Linked DNA regions of Homo sapiens: regions 1, 3, 4, 5 and 6 are each linked to region 2. The links are contacts of gene promoters, found by promoter capture Hi-C in blood cells and fetal thymus (Javierre and others, 2016). All regions are on one chromosome and are shown on one strand. Each heading gives the region's core, a stretch centred on a gene start or on the middle of the fragment in contact. The rest is flanking DNA. Distances are from core to core; before and after follow the strand shown.

What was found. Contacts are between HindIII fragments. The CHiCAGO score rates a contact against its expected background, and 5 or more counts as called.
Region 1: a contact is called between the fragment with the promoter of WDR12 here and the fragment with the promoter of PIKFYVE in region 2, in 2 of 17 cell types (non-activated CD4 T cells and total B cells). The highest score is 7.3, in non-activated CD4 T cells.
Region 3: a contact is called between the fragment with the promoter of TYW5 here and the fragment with the promoter of PIKFYVE in region 2, in 1 of 17 cell types (non-activated CD4 T cells). The highest score is 5.6, in non-activated CD4 T cells.
Region 4: the fragment with the promoter of ATIC here is called in contact with the fragment with the promoter of PIKFYVE in region 2 in 2 of 17 cell types (non-activated CD4 T cells and naive CD4 T cells); the score reaches 5.5 in non-activated CD4 T cells.
Region 5: the fragment with the promoter of BARD1 here is called in contact with the fragment with the promoter of PIKFYVE in region 2 in 3 of 17 cell types (naive CD8 T cells, non-activated CD4 T cells and fetal thymus); the score reaches 11.4 in naive CD8 T cells.
Region 6: a contact is called between the fragment with the promoter of XRCC5 here and the fragment with the promoter of PIKFYVE in region 2, in 1 of 17 cell types (total CD4 T cells). The highest score is 5.1, in total CD4 T cells.

The regions. Positions count from the first base shown.
Region 1 is chr2:202,910,383-202,913,418 of GRCh38, reverse strand. It overlaps WDR12 (WD repeat domain 12), which reads left to right and starts at 1,746. Exons shown (of 13, transcript NM_018256.4): 1 at 1,746-1,983. The coding sequence starts at 1,943. CARF (calcium responsive transcription factor) reads right to left here and starts at 1,144. Exons shown (of 17, transcript NM_024744.17): 1 at 317-1,144. RefSeq lists enhancers at 864-913, 1,014-1,213, 1,254-1,403, 1,414-1,563. The HindIII fragment of the contact is 1,677 bases long and covers 830-2,506 here.
Region 2 is chr2:208,264,533-208,267,781 of GRCh38, reverse strand. PIKFYVE (phosphoinositide kinase, FYVE-type zinc finger containing) reads right to left here and starts at 1,527. Exons shown (of 42, transcript NM_015040.4): 1 at 1,367-1,527. RefSeq lists a silencer at 1,241-1,510 and an enhancer at 1,641-1,690. The HindIII fragment of the contact is 8,601 bases long and covers 1-3,207 here.
Region 3 is chr2:199,953,766-199,956,764 of GRCh38, reverse strand. TYW5 (tRNA-yW synthesizing protein 5) reads left to right here and starts at 1,274. Exons shown (of 8, transcript NM_001039693.3): 1 at 1,274-1,372. The coding sequence starts at 1,295. It overlaps MAIP1 (matrix AAA peptidase interacting protein 1), which reads right to left and starts at 1,183. Exons shown (of 5, transcript NM_001394955.1): 1 at 517-1,183. The coding sequence starts at 966. RefSeq lists enhancers at 751-850, 871-1,030, 1,201-1,320, 431-1,630. The HindIII fragment of the contact is 7,808 bases long and covers 359-2,999 here.
Region 4 is chr2:215,310,233-215,313,449 of GRCh38, reverse strand. It overlaps ATIC (5-aminoimidazole-4-carboxamide ribonucleotide formyltransferase/IMP cyclohydrolase), which reads right to left and starts at 1,391. Exons shown (of 16, transcript NM_004044.7): 1 at 1,289-1,391; 2 at 826-952. The coding sequence starts at 1,307. LOC124907975 (a long non-coding RNA gene) reads left to right here and starts at 1,478. Exons shown (of 2, transcript XR_007088075.1): 1 at 1,478-2,771. RefSeq lists silencers at 1,047-1,416, 1,427-1,506 and an enhancer at 1,037-1,687. The HindIII fragment of the contact is 8,450 bases long and covers 1-3,217 here.
Region 5 is chr2:214,808,179-214,811,283 of GRCh38, reverse strand. It overlaps BARD1 (BRCA1 associated RING domain 1), which reads left to right and starts at 1,601. Exons shown (of 11, transcript NM_000465.4): 1 at 1,601-1,872. The coding sequence starts at 1,715. SNHG31 (small nucleolar RNA host gene 31) reads right to left here and starts at 1,055. Exons shown (of 4, transcript NR_110292.1): 1 at 852-1,055. RefSeq lists a silencer at 1,123-1,692 and enhancers at 2,243-2,322, 2,613-2,662. The HindIII fragment of the contact is 4,673 bases long and covers 874-3,105 here.
Region 6 is chr2:216,107,741-216,110,718 of GRCh38, reverse strand. XRCC5 (X-ray repair cross complementing 5) reads right to left here and starts at 1,371. Exons shown (of 21, transcript NM_021141.4): 1 at 1,262-1,371. The coding sequence starts at 1,282. RefSeq lists an enhancer at 1,026-1,647. The HindIII fragment of the contact is 16,954 bases long and covers 1-2,978 here.

The DNA of each region.
Region 1 (3,036 bases), core at 497-2,996, 5.4 Mb after region 2:
TGCCGCAGTTAATTCTTATAGTTGATAAAAGTGTGGCACAAAAAGGTTAATCAAGTAGCAGAGGCAGGATTTGAACCCAGGAATTCTGGTTCCAGGGCCCGGATTCGGAGCTACAAAGGTGAGTAAACTGAAAAGAGTCCTACTTTTATTGTCATTGCTCTCTAATAAAAATTATTTTTTCTTCCAATTGTTTAAATCTCTTCTCATTCTCTATTTAAATATTAGGCGTTCATTTAAACATTAGGCGTCTACCTTACAGTAGGACATCTTTAAACAACGTAAAAAAGGAAAGCTTTGTCTTCACCTGCACACATACCGGTCTGCCCATAAATTTTGCAATCCAGTTCTGCCTGATTCTAAACTGCTTGTCTCTTGAAGCGAATGCCTTAAAAAGTGACATTGGGATCAGGATAGTTATCTCCATCCATCCTCCCTCAGAAAAACAACTATATTAGAGTAATTCTTGGGACCATTGAGAACAATACACAGGCCTTTGGGTAACTTCAAGACAAAAAAGGCAAAAAGTCGGGGAGAAGGTGTGGGAGGATGATTTTCCCCTTCTAAACGTAAGGTATAAAAGGGCTCAGAAAGCGGAAAAAGAACCCTAAAAAGCAAGGTGCGGGACGGCGTGAGGGACCACACATTGGGCGCTCCGCCCAAGGGGTCCGGCTCCTTCTCCGCGGCGATGGCGCGTCCTTGGGCTCAGCAACCCTCCTGAAGACACCTAACCTCCTCCTTCTCCAGCCTGCCCCTCTGGGGCCTGCGAGCCCCGTCCCGGGCCGGGGGTCGGAAGCCGTGCCATGTGGGACCCCGAAAAGGCCCCCAAGCTTGGCGCGGAAGGCGCCGCCAGTGACCGGCTGCGGCTGGGGGCGGAGGCCGGCAGTTGCTCGGAGCTCCGGCGGGTCAGGAGGTGACGGGAGGAGGAGGAGGCAGGAGGAAGACGGGGGGTTGGGAGGTAGCGTCCGGTAGGTCTGCGCAGACAGCGCTGCCAGACCTCTGACTCCCCCAGTCCTGCCGCCGCCGATAGCCCCACAAGGCGACATGGGAAGTCCGCCGGAGCAGAGGGGAGAAAATTCAAAACGAGTCTACTCAACCTCGTCTTGGCTCCGAGGCCCCGCCATGGAGACCAGCATAATGCGCAGGCGCGCCCCACCGGGAGCGCGCAGAGCAGTCCCACGACAGTAGGACCACTATCGGCCACCGTCGACCGTTTCCTCTCTCATCCGTTCTTTTCTTTGTATTTCCGCCTCTCGCCTCTCTCTAAAAGCCGCAGTTAGAGGCGAGATTTAGGAAAAACCTCTGCCGAGTGAGCCTCTGGTTGGGAATATGTATGAGAAAAAAAAACTGGCAAGGCGTTAGTCAAGCAAAGCTGAAGGCAGAGGAAATTTGATATCTGGCTGGAGTCTAGAGGATTTAATGCAAATAAGATACTCTGAGGGCAGCGTGGCAAAAAAAGACTACAATTCCCGGTGGTCACAGCGTTTGAGAAGCGATGCTTTCTGAGACTTGTAGTAACTAGGAGCTGTGTTTGAACTATCCAGGCTCAGGACAGCCTCTTGAAAAAAAATTTTTTATTAATAAAGCGGATTTGAGTGGGATCTTTTTCCTAATCGATTACGGGCCCACACGTATGGGAAGAATTCTAACAATGATTAAAGGGACATGCTACCTTTACGACTATCCTTTTCTAATCGATGACTCCTAAATCTAGGAGTAGGTAGTCGATGTTTGTGGTCTGGGCGTCTGTAGAAGGGCAACCTCGTGCTTTCTGCAGAGGAGACCGGAGGGCAGAAGGCAGAGTCCAGGCTTAGACTGCAGTTCCTCGCTTACCTGTGCAGTCTAATTTTGAGCTGCCTCTTTGTAGTCTTAAAAGGCAGGAGCTTCGTGTTGTGGGTCTGCTAACCCGTACGTTTCCGTGGGCAAGTCGTGTGTACTCCTCGCCATGGCTCAGCTCCAAACACGCTTCTACACTGATAACAAGAAGTAAGTAAGCGTTCCAGCCTTCTCTCCCTTCCCCAGGTTCCTTTCCGACCACCCCTTTGGTATGACCTTGTGGATCCCTGGTTGTTTCTGCTGTCACCCCCACCCTTTTTTCTGAGATTACCTGCTTTCTAACCAGCTTCGTAGGTTCTATATAATTTGAATTGTGAGTGTGGAGGAGGCTGAAGGGCTTCAGGTTTGCTTTCTGAATGAAACATTTTATATGTGTAATTTAAAAATGAACAGTGGGCCTTGTTATAGGGTGTCTGCTAGTGGTGGTTCACAGTTTTTGAAAACGGAAAAAAAGTTTTTGAAAATGAAAAAACATATTTACCATTTATGTATATCTATATAGATATATAAACATTTTAACCAGTGGTCTCAAGGTCTGTTAGCACTCATTCGAAAACTAATTATATGCTGCCTTGTGGTATATATTGCATTGTTAGCTTTCTTTGTGTTTGCCTGGTCTCTTCCAACTATATTGGAAGTCTCTTGAGGGCAGGGACTATATATTAATTAAGCTTCTTGGATTGGCTGAGTCAACAAAAAATGTCAAATTTTTCAGTGAAAATGATAATATTTGTCGTGTTAATAAGCTAAAGTTAGCCATAAACTAGGAAACTCCCACCTGAGTTACATCTGTGGTTTTGTTTGTAGCTTTATGAGGAGAGCTAGTAAATCATCTTCTCTCCCCTTGTGTTGTTGCTGAAAGTATACATAAATCGTATTATCAATGCACCTGAGTATATGTACTTACTTACATACATTGCCTTAATACTTCTCTAGGAATGTGGTGATGCATTAACATAACCACTGTGTTTTTTAATTGAAAGTAGGTTTTTTTGTTTTTCTTAAAATAAAATTTTTTGAAATATGTGGGGCTTTTTTTTGTTTGTTTGGTTTGGTTTTTTTGGAGACAGAGTCTCACTCTGTTGCCCAGGCTGGACTGCAGTGGTGGGATCTTGGCTCACTGTAACCTCTGTCTCCCGGGTTCAAACAATCTTCCCGCCTCAGCCTCCAGAGTAGCTGGAATTACAGGCATGTGCCACCAAG
Region 2 (3,249 bases), core at 278-2,777:
TAATCCCAGCACCTTGGGAGGCCGAGGCGGGTGAATCGCCTGAGGTCAGGAATTCAAAACCAGCTTCGCTAACATGGTGAAACCCCGTCTCCCCTAAAAATACAAAAATTAGCCGAGTGTGGTGTCGCGCGCCTGCAATCTAGCTACTCAGGAGGCTGAGGCAGGAGAATCGCCTGAACCCTGGGAGGCGGAGGTTGCAGTCGGAGGAGATCGCGCCACTGCACTCCAACCTGGGGGACAGAGCGAGACTCTGTCTCTCAAAAAAAAAAAAAAAAAAAACTGGCAATGTAATAATTTAGGAAAGCTGAATATTGGAAATGTTAGCTTCTATCAACAAAGATTTCTTGTTCAATTTTTGACCAACACGCTTAAAGGAAAACCAGAGCAGGATCCAGAAAGCAGAAAAAGGGAGAACACAGGAAATTAGCCTTGCTCCACAGAAGAGATTTAACCTACACAATCTTTGTCACAAACACAAAAGAAAGAACATTTTTTGTAAGAAAACTGACAGAGTGGGAGTTTTGGAGTGCCAAAAAAGGGGCTCAAATAAATCAGAAATAAGTACATTATACCAAGCGACTACCTCTATTGTCAACACTGGACATATTTTACAACACAGGATGCACTGCGTCAATAGTAGATAATGAATCATGTATACACATCAGATACACACGAATAACTTGCTTTATACAGAATTCTAGCACTTCTTATATTTCTTGACTGTCTTAGGAATAACCTCTGATTGGGCAGAAAACCCCTAAGTCCTAAAAGTTTCCAACACATTCCATTCTCATCCTTTTGTTGGGAACATTCTAAGCAAAGGGTAAACACTAATTGGGAAATAATGCTCCTCCTCAAGAAACTCCAAAACCTAAGTTGAAATGGAATCGTCTCAAATAGCAGAGGCAAGCATTTAAAAAGACAAACACTTATTTGAACCCCCACGGTTGGTATCGTTTCTGCAGCTCATGAACTTTCTTTTCCAGCCTACGGATGCGCCTCTGACAAACTCAGAACTCATGCACTCAGAGGGAAAAGTAACTGTACTCTTCCCCTCCTAATTAAGTTCAGGCGTAAGGGTCGAGAGAGAGGCAAAGGAACTTCAAATGTTTCCAAGGAAATCTCAAGGGCCCCACCCGGCTTCCGTCCCCACTCGCCAGACAAGGCAGCCGGGGAATAGGGAGGACAAGCTAATTCTAAAGCCAGATTCTCTGCCCTTCCTTGCTCAGCCGGCAGCCAGGCCCTAGCCCCCGACTGCGGAGCCCTGGTTCTCACTTTCACCTCAGCTCTGGCCCTGGAGCTCCCCATACCGGCCTCCTTCCCATGCTGAGCCCCAGCCGGCCAAGCTCCAGGCCCCCTCCCTTACCTGCGCCTCCTGCCCCGGCCGCGCCGGCTGCCCCCCGCCCCAGCCTCCGCTTCAACGGCTCAGCCCCCGGAAGTCGGCCCCCGAGAGCGGCGGTGGGCTCCTCAGGCCGCGGACGGTTGCGGCAGGAAGCGAAGCTGCTTACATGGTTGATGCGGCTTCTCGCTTCCCCCCCCCAAGACTCCGCCCTCTGTTTTCCTGTCCCCCAGTCCGAAATCTTTCCCGGGGGCCGGCTCCTCCCAGCCCGGCCGACGCTCGGATCAGATGCTCAGGCAGAAGGAGTCCAGCCCAGATCGAGTCGTCCTGATCTTTTGGCCGAGATTAGGCCGCTTCAGCCTTCCTGGAAGAAGCCAGGGGGACTGCGCGCGTGAGCGTCACGCATGCGGGGTCAACGGATGGGTGCTTGGTGCTCTGGGCACTGCAGGGGTGCTGGCTGGACTGCGGTTACCGTATGTGTTCGATACTGTGGGCACTCATAATATGTTATTGCTTTGTTGTAGACAGTTCACTCGTGTAGCACTGAACCGGAGTTAGCGATGACTCTGTTTCCAGACTTGCATGACTCCACCAATAACCAGCCATATGATCTTAAGCAAATTGCTCATTTATTTAGGCCTTAGACCTCTGGTGTGTAAAGTCGGATTAATAAAAGGACTCACTTCTTAATACTTTTTTGAGATTAAGTAAATGCACTTAAAGCGAATGGCACAGTTCCCTGACCCAGAGTAAGTGATGTCGGCTTTATAGTTAATTTTTTCATTTAGGTGTTGTGTTGCAAATGCTGATGCAAATAAAGTTACCAAGCCCAAGCCCTATCTTGTTCAGCTTGGCTAGAGTTATTCGTCATTTCTGTCCTGCTGAGAGCGCAGTGCAGTTAACTGCAGAAAACATGCTCGCCGCAGTTGTGGGGCTTGGTAGGGGAGGATGGAAAGCAGACGAAACCTAAAGGGAAATGCAGTTTTAAATTCTGTGAGTCCTTTTCCTCAAGAGTTTTGTCAAATCCCAGCCCAGTTTTCCTGGAGTTGGAAAGCACCATCGAAACCTGCAGGTTGAGTCCAGTGCAAATCCCAGTCACCATCCTCAGCTGGGCCCTTCAGCAATCTTTCTGGGAGTCTGTAGTCAGCTTCTCCCATTCCTTATTACTGCTGCGTCAGACCACCACCACGACCCCCACATTACCTTGACCATCATTCTCATCAGAGAATCATATTTTATACCCACGTGAAAAATCCCAAGGTATCTGGGCGTGACCCTTAACAAGCTAATTCCCCACACACCACAACATTTACCTACATCCACATCTGCCCTGGTCTGCCTTTCTCCCTCATCTCTCTGAGGAAGGGGCCTCTTCTTCCCCAGCTCAATCCTTTTGGCCCCCAATTCACCCTCTCCTGTCTGGGAGCTTGCACCGTATCTGCAACCTCCCCTTTTCCAATGACTCTGCCTCCTCAGCCCATAAAGATGCTCAAGTCTCTGCCTTCCTTTAAAAAAATTTTTTTTAAAAATTTAAGATAAGCAAAAAAGGCCCTCGTAATTATCACCCTATGTTAATATTTCATAAACCTACAATAAAGTATGAAATAGGTACAGAGATCATATGAAAAGAATAAATTGCCCAGCCACGACGACTGCAGTGTATGTAGAAACTCCATCTATGGTTTAAAAAAAAAAAAAAAAAGTGCACTCCGCAAATATTTTTGAGTCCCTAATTTAACCTGCAGTGTGTTAGTTATAGAAGCACTACACTAAGGATAGAATTATGAACGTATCCCACTGCTTCACTTGACTAGCCTAAAAAATAAAAATATATGTGAACATTACACAGTCCATGTCCTCAAGAAGCTTACCGTCTAATATCTATATTAGCTTACAGTTTAATTTCTGTG
Region 3 (2,999 bases), core at 25-2,524, 8.3 Mb after region 2:
TGGCAGGAAGTTCTGCTCTTCTACCCAAGGTGACATTACAGCACTTTGGAAATGTTATCTCAATTATTCTTCAATCTTACCCATTTATTAATGTATTCAGCAAACATTCATGGAGTGCCTACTATGTGCCAGGCATTGTCTTGCCCACTTTGTAAATTTGAAAATTATGTTCAGACAAGATGAGCCATATAGCTTTTTCTTTCTGAGACAGGGCCTGGCTCTGTATCCCAGGCTGGAGTGCAATGGCACGATCACAGCTCACTACAACGTCCAACTCCTGGGTTCAAGCGATCCTCCCCTTCAGCCTCCCAAGTAGCTGAGACTACAGGCGTGTACCACCATTCCCGGCCCAGAAGCTTACTTTAAGTCAAGCAATGGCTGGAAGGCTCTATGTCTGGGCCACTAATCACGTTTGATCACTTGTATCCCAGTGAAGAAAACTCACTGCTAAGCACTTCTGCGAGCAATAGTTGAACTCATTAGAGACGGATAGGTCAATCAGGGAAATAAACAAACCTGCTTCGCTCCCTCGGAGAACTCTGTGATGCTGAACTCTTTGTCGAAATAGGCCCAGATAAGGAAGGCCTTAATTCGAGTCCTAACCCAGTTGATGGGGTTGGAGAATCCCAGGACGATCATCTTGGTTTTCTGGTGCTGCTGGGGCTTCTCCTCCGTGCTGTAGCTGCGCTGAGGGCAGGCAGGGAAAGAAGCGAAGGCTGCGGGGAGTCCCGGGCTGCTGAGCACTGGCCACCGGGAGCCCTGGGCAGGTAGCGCCGAGGCTGCCAAGGCCCTAGCGCTTCGTGGAAATAACGCCGCTCCCAAGCCGAGGCGACAGCGGCAGAAGTAGCAAAGTGTGGCCGACGGCAGCCTCACCTCGGCCACAGCAGGAGTCCGGAGTCGGACGGCCCCGCAGGGCAGCGACCGAGAGTGCAGGAACTGGGGTAGCAAACGAGCGGCCAGCGCCATTTTTATGACCCTTCACACCGGTGCCTGCCGGTGCTGTATGGAAAGGAAGTCGGTGGGAAACCGCCTCAGCGGTGTCGGAGAAAGAGACTGGAGAGCAAAGTGGACCTGTTGCTGCAGCCTCTGGTGAGTCGGCCCCGTCCCCGCTCTCCAGCACGCAGCCCAGGCCGAGGCCCTTCGGCAACCCGCCCCGCGCTCGGACCCAGCCACTCTGGAGTCTGCCGGCCTCGCGGACCTTTTCTCTGTCGCTCGTGTTTCCGGGCGGATGGCGCTGAGGAACGCTTTAGAGCCGAAGTTCCGAAGACCTGGAAGAGGGCAGGCGTGAGCAACCATGGCCGGGCAGCACCTCCCGGTACCCCGGCTGGAGGGCGTTTCTCGGGAGCAGTTCATGCAGCACCTCTACCCACAGGTGAGGCCCTCGCGCGGGGCAGAACCTCGAGAAACCAGCGAGAGACACGTCTTTACCTTTCGGACAGCTGGGAACTGGTTTTTAGAGACCCAGGGTGTGGGAAAGAGGCGCAGGACGGCAGCAGATCACTGGTTGGCCCTTAGACCAAGGGAAAGGTGCACGGGGGACGCCGACTGGCTCCTCTATTGAAATTTCCGGAGAAAGTCCCATGTTTCTGGGGAGCAAGATGATGGCGGAGAGCTGAGTGCGAGAGGTATTTTGCCTAAACTCTTTACTCCGCATCTGTCAGTCTGCTCCGAATTAATGGATTTGAAGGCACAACTTTTCACTCCACTGAGCCAAAAAGGAAAGCAATGGGATTCCCCCGGAAAACTCCTACTCGTCTTGAATTCTAACTTACTTAGGTTCTAGTTCCGACATTGGAGTCTTTTATACCTGTAGTTAGAACCTTAGGTCTTTAAAAGAAAACTCATAGAGAAATATTAGGGAAACAAAAAGTGCTTTTACTTGCAGTGCTTTTCAAGGGAGTCCAGACCTAAGAAAAACAAGGTATTAAAAGGAAAAATCCACAGGATTACAGTAAGTCAGTTTATGGTAGGAAAAATACCCAGCAATTTTCTTACCTGATATTTACATTTATAAGGGTGGTCATAGAATTACAGTTCTGGGGCCGGGCGCGGTGGCTCACGCCTGTAATCCCAGCACTTTGCGAGGCCGAGGCGGACGGATCACCGGAGGTCAGGAGTTCAAGACCAGCCAGTAGAAATCCCATCTCTACTAAAAATACAAAATTAGCCGGGCATGGTGGTGGCCCATACCTGTAATCCCAGCTACTCGGGAGGCTGAGGCAGGAGAATCGCTTGAACCCGGGAGGCGGAGGTTGCAGTGAGCCGAGATCGCGCCACTGCACTCCAGCCTGGGCAACAAGAGCTAAACTCGGTCTCAAACAAACAAACAAAACTACAATTCTGAGTGTTACAAAAGTCGGATGGGCTGGGCGCCGTGGTTCATGCCAGTAATCCTAACATTTTGGGAGGCCCAGGTCGGTGGATCACTTGAGGTCAGGAGTTCAAGACCAGCCTGGCCAATATGGTGAATCCCCGTCTGTACAAAAAATACAAAAATTAGCCGGGCGTGGTGGCGCACGCCTGTATTCCCAGCTACTCTGGAGGCTGAGGTCGGAGGATCTGCTTGAGCCCGGGAGGTCGAGGCTGCAGTGATCCATGATCCTGCCACTGCTCCAGCATGGGCGAGAGGGTGAGACCCTAGCTTAAAAAAAAAAAAGGCGGGGTTGGGGGGATGCGGGAGGAATGAAGTTTTTCTTTTGATAGCAACCTACGGGAGAGGATTCAAGCCTTTATTAGTTTGGAGACTTGTACTAGATGGGTTGTTCTTGCTCTCCCTGTCCTTAGACACCCCCTATCTCAGAATGTGCTAGACGTAAGTTGCCTAAAGGGCAGTGTTGTGAAGATTAGGGTATGTGGAAGTGCTTTGTAAGAGTCATAGCAAAAGGTATTTTGTAATTTAATCTCTTCAGACAAGACATACAGCACAAAGCATCATTACATTTTAAAAAGTCGAAAATTACAAACAACTTTCTCTGGCCATGGGCAGTAAAACTAGAAAT
Region 4 (3,217 bases), core at 142-2,641, 7.0 Mb before region 2:
ATCAGCAATGGCATCCTGGTTAATCATTTCTAAGTCCCTTCTTTCCATGGCCTAGTCAGCTAATGAAGGGCTTGTGAACGTGGGAATGAATGATTTGCACCTTCATATGGTTACCAGAGATTCTAAGGGAAGGCAGGTAAATTGGAATCTTCATGATGTCGAGTTTTATTAAATCACCAGTCAAAGTAACTGAAGTTTTCCTTGCATAACAAGTGGCCCACCTAAGTTAATCTGTTTAAGGAAGGGGCTAAGACTAGTGTCCTAAAATCAGGAACAGCACGGGTTCCAATCCTACTTTTCCCTTACTCAACTGTTTAAACTTGTGCAGAAGATGCTAAATCTGTCCAGTGTGTTGTCCAGGGTCTTTCTCTGTCACCCAGGATGGAGTGCAGTAGTGCCATCTCGGCTCACCACAACCTCCGCCTCCTAGGTTCAAGCGATTCTCCTGCCTCAGCCTTCCCAGTAGCTGGGATTACAGGCGTGTGCCACCATACCGGCTAATTTTTGTATTTTTAGTAGAGACGGGTTTCACCATGTTGGCCAGGCTGGTCTCGAACTCTTGACCGTAAGTGATCAGCCCACCTCGGCCTCCCAAAGTGCTGGGATTACATGCGTGAGCCACCTAGCCCAGCCGTCCAGGGTCTTAAAAGTTGCTAAATCTCTCTGAGCCTCACTTTTTTTCCCCATAAAGTGGGGAAGTATTACACCAACCTCACAGCGCTACTGGGAGGAGTAAATAAGGCGTTTTGCTGCTGGTGCCTGGAATACAATACTTCCTGGTTAATGTGATCACACTCCTTTCTGATGGAACTAGCTATGCCTTACCTGACTGCCAGACCAGCATCCCTGAGAGCTTTTGCAGTCCCTCCGGAAGCGACCAGATTCAAACCAAGAGCGGTCAGGTTTCTTGCAAATTCCACAAGGCCGGTTTTGTCAGAGACACTAAATAAGGCTGAAAGAGAAGACATTTTTTCTCATGATTCGCAGCACATTGCACTGTGTTCTGCAAGGCCTTGGGAGGGTCTGGGGGAGGAGATTCTCGAATCGCAAGGCCAGCACCTGGACCCTGCGTTCGCAGGCCTGGTCCGGGCCTCCCCAGGTCTTACACCCGCGAGCTGCTCTAAGGCGGGCCCCACGCAGGCTGCGGCCCGGCCGGGGAGCGGGGACGCTGGCTTTCAATCCCGCAGCGCCGCCCCTGCAGTGCCGGGTCCCGCCGGCCGCCGCCAAGGCGGGAGCGTGGGGGGCCGCAGGCGAGGACGCAGACCGCGCCGCTCCGCTAGGGCCTCACCGAGCTGGCCGGGAGCCATGGCTGCAGGCACTGGGTTCAGGGCGAGCGGGAGGCAGCAGCGGCGGCACCACGTGCGCAGGTAGGAGGGCTGCCGGGATGTGGCGGCTCAGGAAGCGAGGGGGCGGAGCTGTTTCCGGGCTTATCACGTGGCCCGCCGGCCCTGCCCGGCGCCCTGCTCTGCTCAGTTTCAGATGCAAGATCCGCGCCCCGGGGCTGAAGGGAACGGCGGGATGGGGTGGGGCTCTGCCTGGCGCGCCTGGGCGGAGTGCTTGGGCTGGAAGGGATCCTGCCTGCGATCCCGAAGTCCAGGCGTGGGAGCCAGCGATCTGCCCACGACCCCAAAGTGAGGCCACTCCACGGCCTCTGGGGCAAATGCCTGTTATTCTAGGCAGCCGGTCCCCAGAAGCTGGAAAGTACGTAAAAGTGCCAGAAGCTCCCATGCTGAAAACTAAACAAAAGGAATAGTTCATATAGCGGCAAAGCTGGAAAGTATCTGGACAGTTATCTACCATCCTCCCTTTTTGTTTGTTGTTTTTTTGTTTTTCTGGGTTTTTTTGTTTTTTTTGTTTTTTTTTTTTTTTTTTGAGATGGAGTTTCGCTTTTGTTGCCCAGGCTGGAGTGCAATGGCGCGATCTCGGCTATGTCACGTGCAACCTGCAACCTCCACATCCCGGGTTCAAGAGTTTATCCTGCCTCAGCCTCCCGAGTAGCTGGAATTATAGGCAGGCGCCACGATGCCCGGCTAATTTTTGTATTTTTAGTAGACATGGGGTTTCGCCATGTTGGCCAAGCTGGTCTCAAACTCCTGACCTCAGGTGATCCGCCTGCCTCGGCTTCCCAAAGTGCTGGGATTACAGGGGTGAGCCACCATGCCCAACTTGTTTTTTGTTTGTTTGCTTGCTTGCTTGTTTGCTTGTTTGTTTTGAGACAGGGTCTCGCTCTGTCTCCCAGACTGGAGAGCAGTGGCACCATCTCAGCTCACTGCAACCTCTGCCTCCCAGGTTCAAGAAATTCTCCTGCCTCTGCCTCCACACCCGTCTAATTTTTTGTTGTTGTTGTACTTTTTTTTTTTTTTTTTTGTATATTTAGTAGAGATGGGGTTTCACGGTGTTGGCCAGGCCGGTCTTCAACTCCTGACCTCAAATGATCTGTCCACCTCAGCCTCCCAAAGTGCTGGGATTACAGGTGTGAGCCACCGTGCCCGGCCCCATCCTCCTTTTTAATAGGCTTAAAAAATAAAACCAAGGACCAATGATTTAAGTGAGGGACTCCAGAGGCCACAGATGACAGTCAAAACGAAGTGAAATTGACATTCGTTGTTGATTTTCACGTCATAAAATTATAATTTAAATATTAATTTATAATACTATTTTATACAATTTAGTCAGTATTGTAAAAGTGCCTAAAAACTACTTAAAGATGGTGTCTTCTTGCAAACCTGTAAATATTCCTGGATGAGAGGAATGATGACAGTCAAAAGAAGGTAAGAGAAGACCTTTCTTAATTCATTAAAAACAGGGAAAGCAAAATTGAACACATTTGTTTCTTTCTAAAAATGACACCTTTGCCACAAAATAAATACATATTGTGGTCTATGAGTCTTTTTTGTGTTATTAGAATTATATTCCAAAGTAATAGCATTGTTTATCTTTTAGTCTGAGCTCACAGCTGTAAAAATGAGTCTATTTTCTCATTATCTGCATGCTATTTATTTTTGTTTTTCCTCTTCCTTTCTCTAATTCTTCCCATCTCTTTACTCCCCAAAATAAATACCTATTGACTAGAATCAATTTTTTTTTTTTTTTTTGAGACAGAGTCTCGCTCTGTCACCCACACTCTCGCTCTGTCACCCACACTGGAGTGCAGTAGCGCGATCTCGGCTCACTGCAACCTCTGCCTCCCAGGTTCAAGCGATTCTCCTGCCTCAGC
Region 5 (3,105 bases), core at 352-2,851, 6.5 Mb before region 2:
TGAACTAGAAGGGGACACGCACATAATCGTATGTGTGTGTATCTACATACACAGGTGATATGATGCACCTGAGAGAATCCAGTCTAGGAACTAGGAAAACCTTTAAGGAGTGATACTTCAGCTGTATTCTGAAGGATGAGGAATGGAGAGGAGGCCAATTCCAGGTTCCAAAGTGAATCTTTGCGCAAAAGCCATGAGGCAGCAAGGTGCAGGGGCTTTTAATGACCTAAGGGAACGCACTGTGGGGTTGGGACCATGATGGCCAGAGGAGGTTTTGACAAGAGGCTAGTCAAAGAGCAGAGAAAAACTTTAAGGAGTTTTAAGAAAGGGAAGTGCCACGATGAGTTTTGTGTTTGGAAATGTTTTAGGCGGCCACACCGCAGTCTCGGGACTGGCTGGGACCTGGATAGACACTTGGATATCAGCTAGAAAGCTACGACAGGAAACCAGGCGAGGACGAGGCAACTGGGGATGTTGTGGAGCAGAGACGGAGAGAAAATGGGTGCATTCGAGACAAGTTAGGGGGAAAAAATGCAAGGACTTGGAAATGAACTTGGGGCGCGGCAGGAAGGCATGACGGGTTGCTCTGTAGGTCTTATCTGTAAATTACGGCGATCAGTGAAAGATCTGGAGGAGGAAGGTGGACACACTCTCTAACAAAAAAAACCCTTTTTGAAATTTTATACCAATATTTTAAAAGTAAACCAGATCTTTTCAGACATGCCTTTGAGCTGATATTTGTTAACTAGTTAGAATTAGAAACTTTCCTTATTTTTACTCAGTTACAATATACGCCACAGCTGAGGTGAGAGGAAAGAAAAGGTTGCTTTCTTAGGAACAAAGAGTGGTACCTTCAGTATCGTGGGCAAAGCTTTTCCAAGTCCAACAGCAGTCAAAACAGCGCTTTTTATAAATAACACTCAGCTAAAAGTTTCTGGGTTTGTGATTGTTCCAACGGTTAAGCTCGGATGAGGGTCCCTGGAGTCGTAGCTCCCGGGAAACGTCGACTGGCTTTCCACCTGGACTTCATCCGTCCAGGCAGCCCAGAGGGGCTTCAGGCCCCGCCCGCTCTCCTGCCAACTACAGCCTCGCGACTGCGCTCAGCCTTCAGGCCCCGCCCCTTCGGTCAAGCGGCGTGCTCTCACTGCACGGCGCCTGGGCCCCGCGCGCCGGGACCTCGGTTTCAGCCGTCCTGTCCTGCCCCGAGGCCCCTAGGCCCCGCCCCTGGGCCCCGCGCGCCAGGACTTCGGTTTCGACCGTCCTGTCCCGCCCCGAGGCTCCTAGGCCCCGCCCCCTCTGTCCCCGGCGTGTTCTCGCGGCTCCGCCCCTAGGACCCGCGCGCCGGGACTTTGGCAAGTTTCAGCCGTCCGGCCCCGCCCCCTCGGTCCCACGGCTCTCGCGGCCCCTCCCCTAAGTCCCACACGCCGGGACTTTGGCAAGTTTCAGCCTCCAGCCCCACCCCTAGGTCCCGCCCACTCGGCCAGCGGCTGGCTCTCGCGGCCCCGCCCCTGTGCCCTGCGAGTCCCTATTTTGGGAGCATTGCGGCCGCCGTGCCCCGCCCCTCCCCGCGCGCCCCGCCCCTCTGGCGGCCCGCCGTCCCAGACGCGGGAAGAGCTTGGCCGGTTTCGAGTCGCTGGCCTGCAGCTTCCCTGTGGTTTCCCGAGGCTTCCTTGCTTCCCGCTCTGCGAGGAGCCTTTCATCCGAAGGCGGGACGATGCCGGATAATCGGCAGCCGAGGAACCGGCAGCCGAGGATCCGCTCCGGGAACGAGCCTCGTTCCGCGCCCGCCATGGAACCGGATGGTCGCGGTGCCTGGGCCCACAGTCGCGCCGCGCTCGACCGCCTGGAGAAGCTGCTGCGCTGCTCGCGTTGGTAAAGACGGAGCTTCTTGGGGGTGGCTGCGAGGGCACGGGTCGCACAGTTTCTGGGGGCGGCAGAATCTTTTCAAATCTTCCGTTTCCTCCTTCCGTTCCCGCGCTGCAGTCGGGTCGGCGTGCGGTTAGCACCTGCCGGGGGATATAGTATTAACAACTTCTGCTTCTCATTCACTTTATTTTTGGGCGACTTACCGGCCTCCCCTTGCCCTGAATCCAACTGAAACGGTAGTTTTTGAACTTCAGCGGGCTGAAGAACCGTCTGGAGGTGTGGCTAAAAAAATGTTCATCCCGGTCGCGCCTCCAGAGTTTGAATCGGGCTGGGGTGGGGCTGAGGCTTCTGCATTTTTTACCCGGCCCTGGATTACCCCGCTGCTTTCCGGGAGCTGTGGCGAATTGGGCTGGCGGGCCGCCCCGGAGACCCTCTAAATTAGAAGCAGCTGCCACTCTAAGTTAAACTGGCCTTTTTGACATTTTCTCCGTGCCAGCTTTTTCGAGTGAGATGGGATGGAGCATCGGATATCTACCATAGTTGTAGATTGAAGATGGCACGGAATTTCTCATTTTCTTAGTTTGCTCAAAAGACTGTATGTCTGGTGTCCCCGCTCTTAGTGATGCTGTTTATTGTTTTCCTTCATGCTGTCACATTATGGGAGTCCTCTCAGGGTTTTCATTCCGTCCAAAGACATTTTCATGAGTGTTACTTCTTGCTTTTTTTCGTGTAGCTCTTTCTAGTATACAAACCAAGAAGGTTTGTAAAACCCAAGAAAGGTTTGTCTCATTTTCATTTCTTCTGAAAAGCATTTTTATTGAGCACTTGCTGTGTGTACAGCTAAGTATTTCTGTATGAAGATCACTGGCAGTTTTTTTGTTATTTGTAGCTGTCAAAAGTTTATATCCTTTTTGGACTTTTTTCCCCTTTGATTTCTAACTTGCAGAACTTAAGTTACCTAGTTGCATAAAGTATAAGTAACACAACTTTTTCTTTTCTTTCCTTTTTTGAGACGGAGTCTCGCTCTGTCGCCCAGGCTGGAGTGCAGTGGCACGATCTTGTCTCACTGCAAGCTCCGCCTCCCGGGTTCACGCCATTCTCCTGCTTCAGCCTCCCAAGTAGCTGGGACTGCAGGCGCCCGCCATCATGCCCGGCTAATTTTTTGTATTTTTAGTACAGATGGGGTTTCACCGTGTTAGCCAGGATGGTCTCCGTCTCCTGACCTCGTGATCCGCCCGC
Region 6 (2,978 bases), core at 122-2,621, 7.8 Mb before region 2:
GCACTTTTGTCATGAATTAGGTATCCAGTAAGTGCCATCAAAGGGTTTCAAATATGGAACTTATTGTCTGGAAGCAGAATGGTCTATATTTCTGAGTTCCTATCTGGCAGCAGTAAGAAAACTGAGAAAGAGAAACCGGGTAGCATAGCAACTCTTCATTTCTATACCGAAGCAATACAGGCTGTTAGAATTTTACTTCCAGTTCATCTGCAACAAACAGCTCCTCCACTAGAGCTACAAAGTTTTCAGCAGCTGAAAGAGGACGAAAAAAGGAGGTGAGTGGCATTATTAAAAGTTCATGATCGTTTTAATCAACATTTCTCAATGAGGAGTTGAGGGAACTAGGGATCAGTTGCTCAAACTCGTATCTTGTTTATCTGTATTGAATAAATTCATTAATCCCTGGAACCACATCTCCCTCTAGTGACCCTTCAGAGACAACTACCACTCTTTTATGTTGAAAAAAAAAAATCACTTTAAAATTCATTGTAATTTCTGTTACTGATCTGGGACACCAATGGTCATAGATTTCTAGCAACACAGGGGTTCTCCAGGGCCCTGAAACCAGACAGCTTGGATTCAAATCCGGATTTCACCAGGAAAAGCCCACAGTTCTTTATTCCTCGGTTTTCCCACTTGCAAAATGGGGATAAATAGTTTTCACTTCAAGGGGTTGTGAAGATTAAATGAGATAAGAATAAAAGGTTTAGATCCGTCCCTCACAGAGTGGGCTTTCAATAAATGCGGGATACTACGTTATTATAAAGCTAATAATACGACGCTTTACAGTTTAAGTTATTTTAGTCACAGATAGTCCCTCTCTTAAGTTTTACAACAAGCCCTGTGGGATAGTTGCTTTATCACAGCTAATTTTCATTCTCATAGAGATCTTAAGAACCCAGGCTCGGAAGTAATAGAGGAAGTGGGGCTAGGGAGTGGAATGGGATAAAGAGAGAGAGAGGGGAGGCGGGTGGGGAGGCAGGTGAGACAAAGAGCAGGTAGAGAGGGAGAAGAGGGATGGGATGGGTGGGTAATGGAAGAGGTGGAGTCAGCGAGGCTCAAATTCAGGTCTTGGAGCCCCAAATCTCCAGCTTTTCTCATAGCGCATCCCTCGGTCCCGGCCCTCCTGACTGAGCCCACCACCATGATCTTCTCTTGCCCCATTCTTTGTCTTGACCGCGATCCCACGATTCCTGCTTCCGAACCACCCTCTCCGGATCCCCAGTCCGGGTAAAGCCCAAGTCCATGGCTTTCTTTATACCTTATTCCCCGACCGCACCATGTTGCCGGTCCTCAGGCGCTTTGGTCGCTTCTTCCGGGCGGGAACCTGCCGTGTCGCAACTCGCTTCCGGTGGACAAGCGGCAGATAGCGGAAAGAGCCGCTTCGTTTCCTGCTAGGCCTGAAAGGGGCGGGGAAACCGTGCCCCGGAACTCTGAGCATGCGCAGATTCCCGCCGAGCTTGCGCAGATTCCCGCCGAGCTCGCGCAGATTCCGGCCGAGCATGCGCAGATTCTCTCCGAGCATGCGCAGATTCCCGCCGAGCATGCGCAGATTCCCGCCGAGCATGCGCACATTCTCTCCATTCCGCCGTAGTCGGGAGCGTGTGGTGTTTGAGCCGCCTGAAACGCTAGTACGACAGATTTACTTAAAGATTCACTTAATCACTTAAAGATTCACGTCCCTTTTCTCTCATTGAGAATAACACCTAAGGCATTTTGTGTCAGAGCTCTGGAGTTAGATTTCTTTTCTTTTTTTTACTTTTTTAAAAAATCTTTTTTCCTTTAATTTCATTTTTTCATTTATTTTTTATAACTTTTGATTTTTTTTTTTCTCATCACTTGTGGGTTTTTTTCTACTTTTTATTTTTGGTTATTGTGGAGTTAGATTTTCTTGAGTATGAGTATGAATGCAGAAAGTCACTTAACTTCTCTAAAAGACTCAGTTTCTTCTAAAAAGTGATAATGAAACACTTCACCGATGTGATAACCTTAGAGCCAACTGGGGAAGAAGAGTAGGACGTCCCCAGGAGCACAAAAGTAGAAGGGAGATTCTACTCTGCAGAGAAAATGGGATGCACAAACGCCTGGAGGCATGAGACTTTATCTGCTAAGGCTCTCCCAGTAGTTAGCAGTGGCTCCAGCTTGGAAGGGAGGAGTCAAGGTTTAATTTAGAAGACAAGTCTAGGGAGATATAGAAATAGCAGCTGTCATCACAGTGCTTTACTTGATCACGAGCCCTTTGTCCAGCCCGCATCCCCTACCCCTTTGAGGGAGGCAGGCCCAAGCAGTACCTTGCATAGAAATGACTGCTTTCTATACCATATGACCCCCAGCTGACAGGTGGCTGGACGAAGGGTCTGGCAACCTGCAAAGTGTCTGCAAACCTCTGCCCAAACTGAGAAAATCAAGTCCAATCAATATTCTCTCCTGCTTGAAAATTGTTTCTGGGAAAAGCAAGAATTGAAGCTGAAAAGATGTGGAGAATCTATGAGCCAAAATTATAAATACATTGAAGCCTCTAGAATGTAGAGTCAGACATATTCAGAGGTGCTCATAGAGCCCAGGAGGTTCTTCCAGCTTTTGATTCAAACTCAAGGAGTTACTTAAAAGCTGAAATATTATTTTTAATAATACTTTAAAGGAACAGCAGCGCCCTGGCCGCTCAGCTTTGCGCGGGCTGCAGCAGGCAGGCAGGCAGGCACGGACACTCGCCCTTCCCTGCGGGTAAGATTTCCAAGAGAAAGATCAGCTCGGCAGAAGGGGCGGGGAAGATCTGTGAGGTTGTCAGCTAAATCTCCTCCAGCAAAGGTGGAAACGAAGCCCAGCGGAGGCAGCAGGACAGCATAAATTTTCAGACAAAGAAGCAAACAAGGAAAAATGGGAGCAAAGGGCAAACAGGCCAAGTGGCTATCCGGGAAACAAAAGATTTATCTGTGGAAAGCGGAGAAACTGAAACAAGGAGAGTCCAGCCTCTGGTG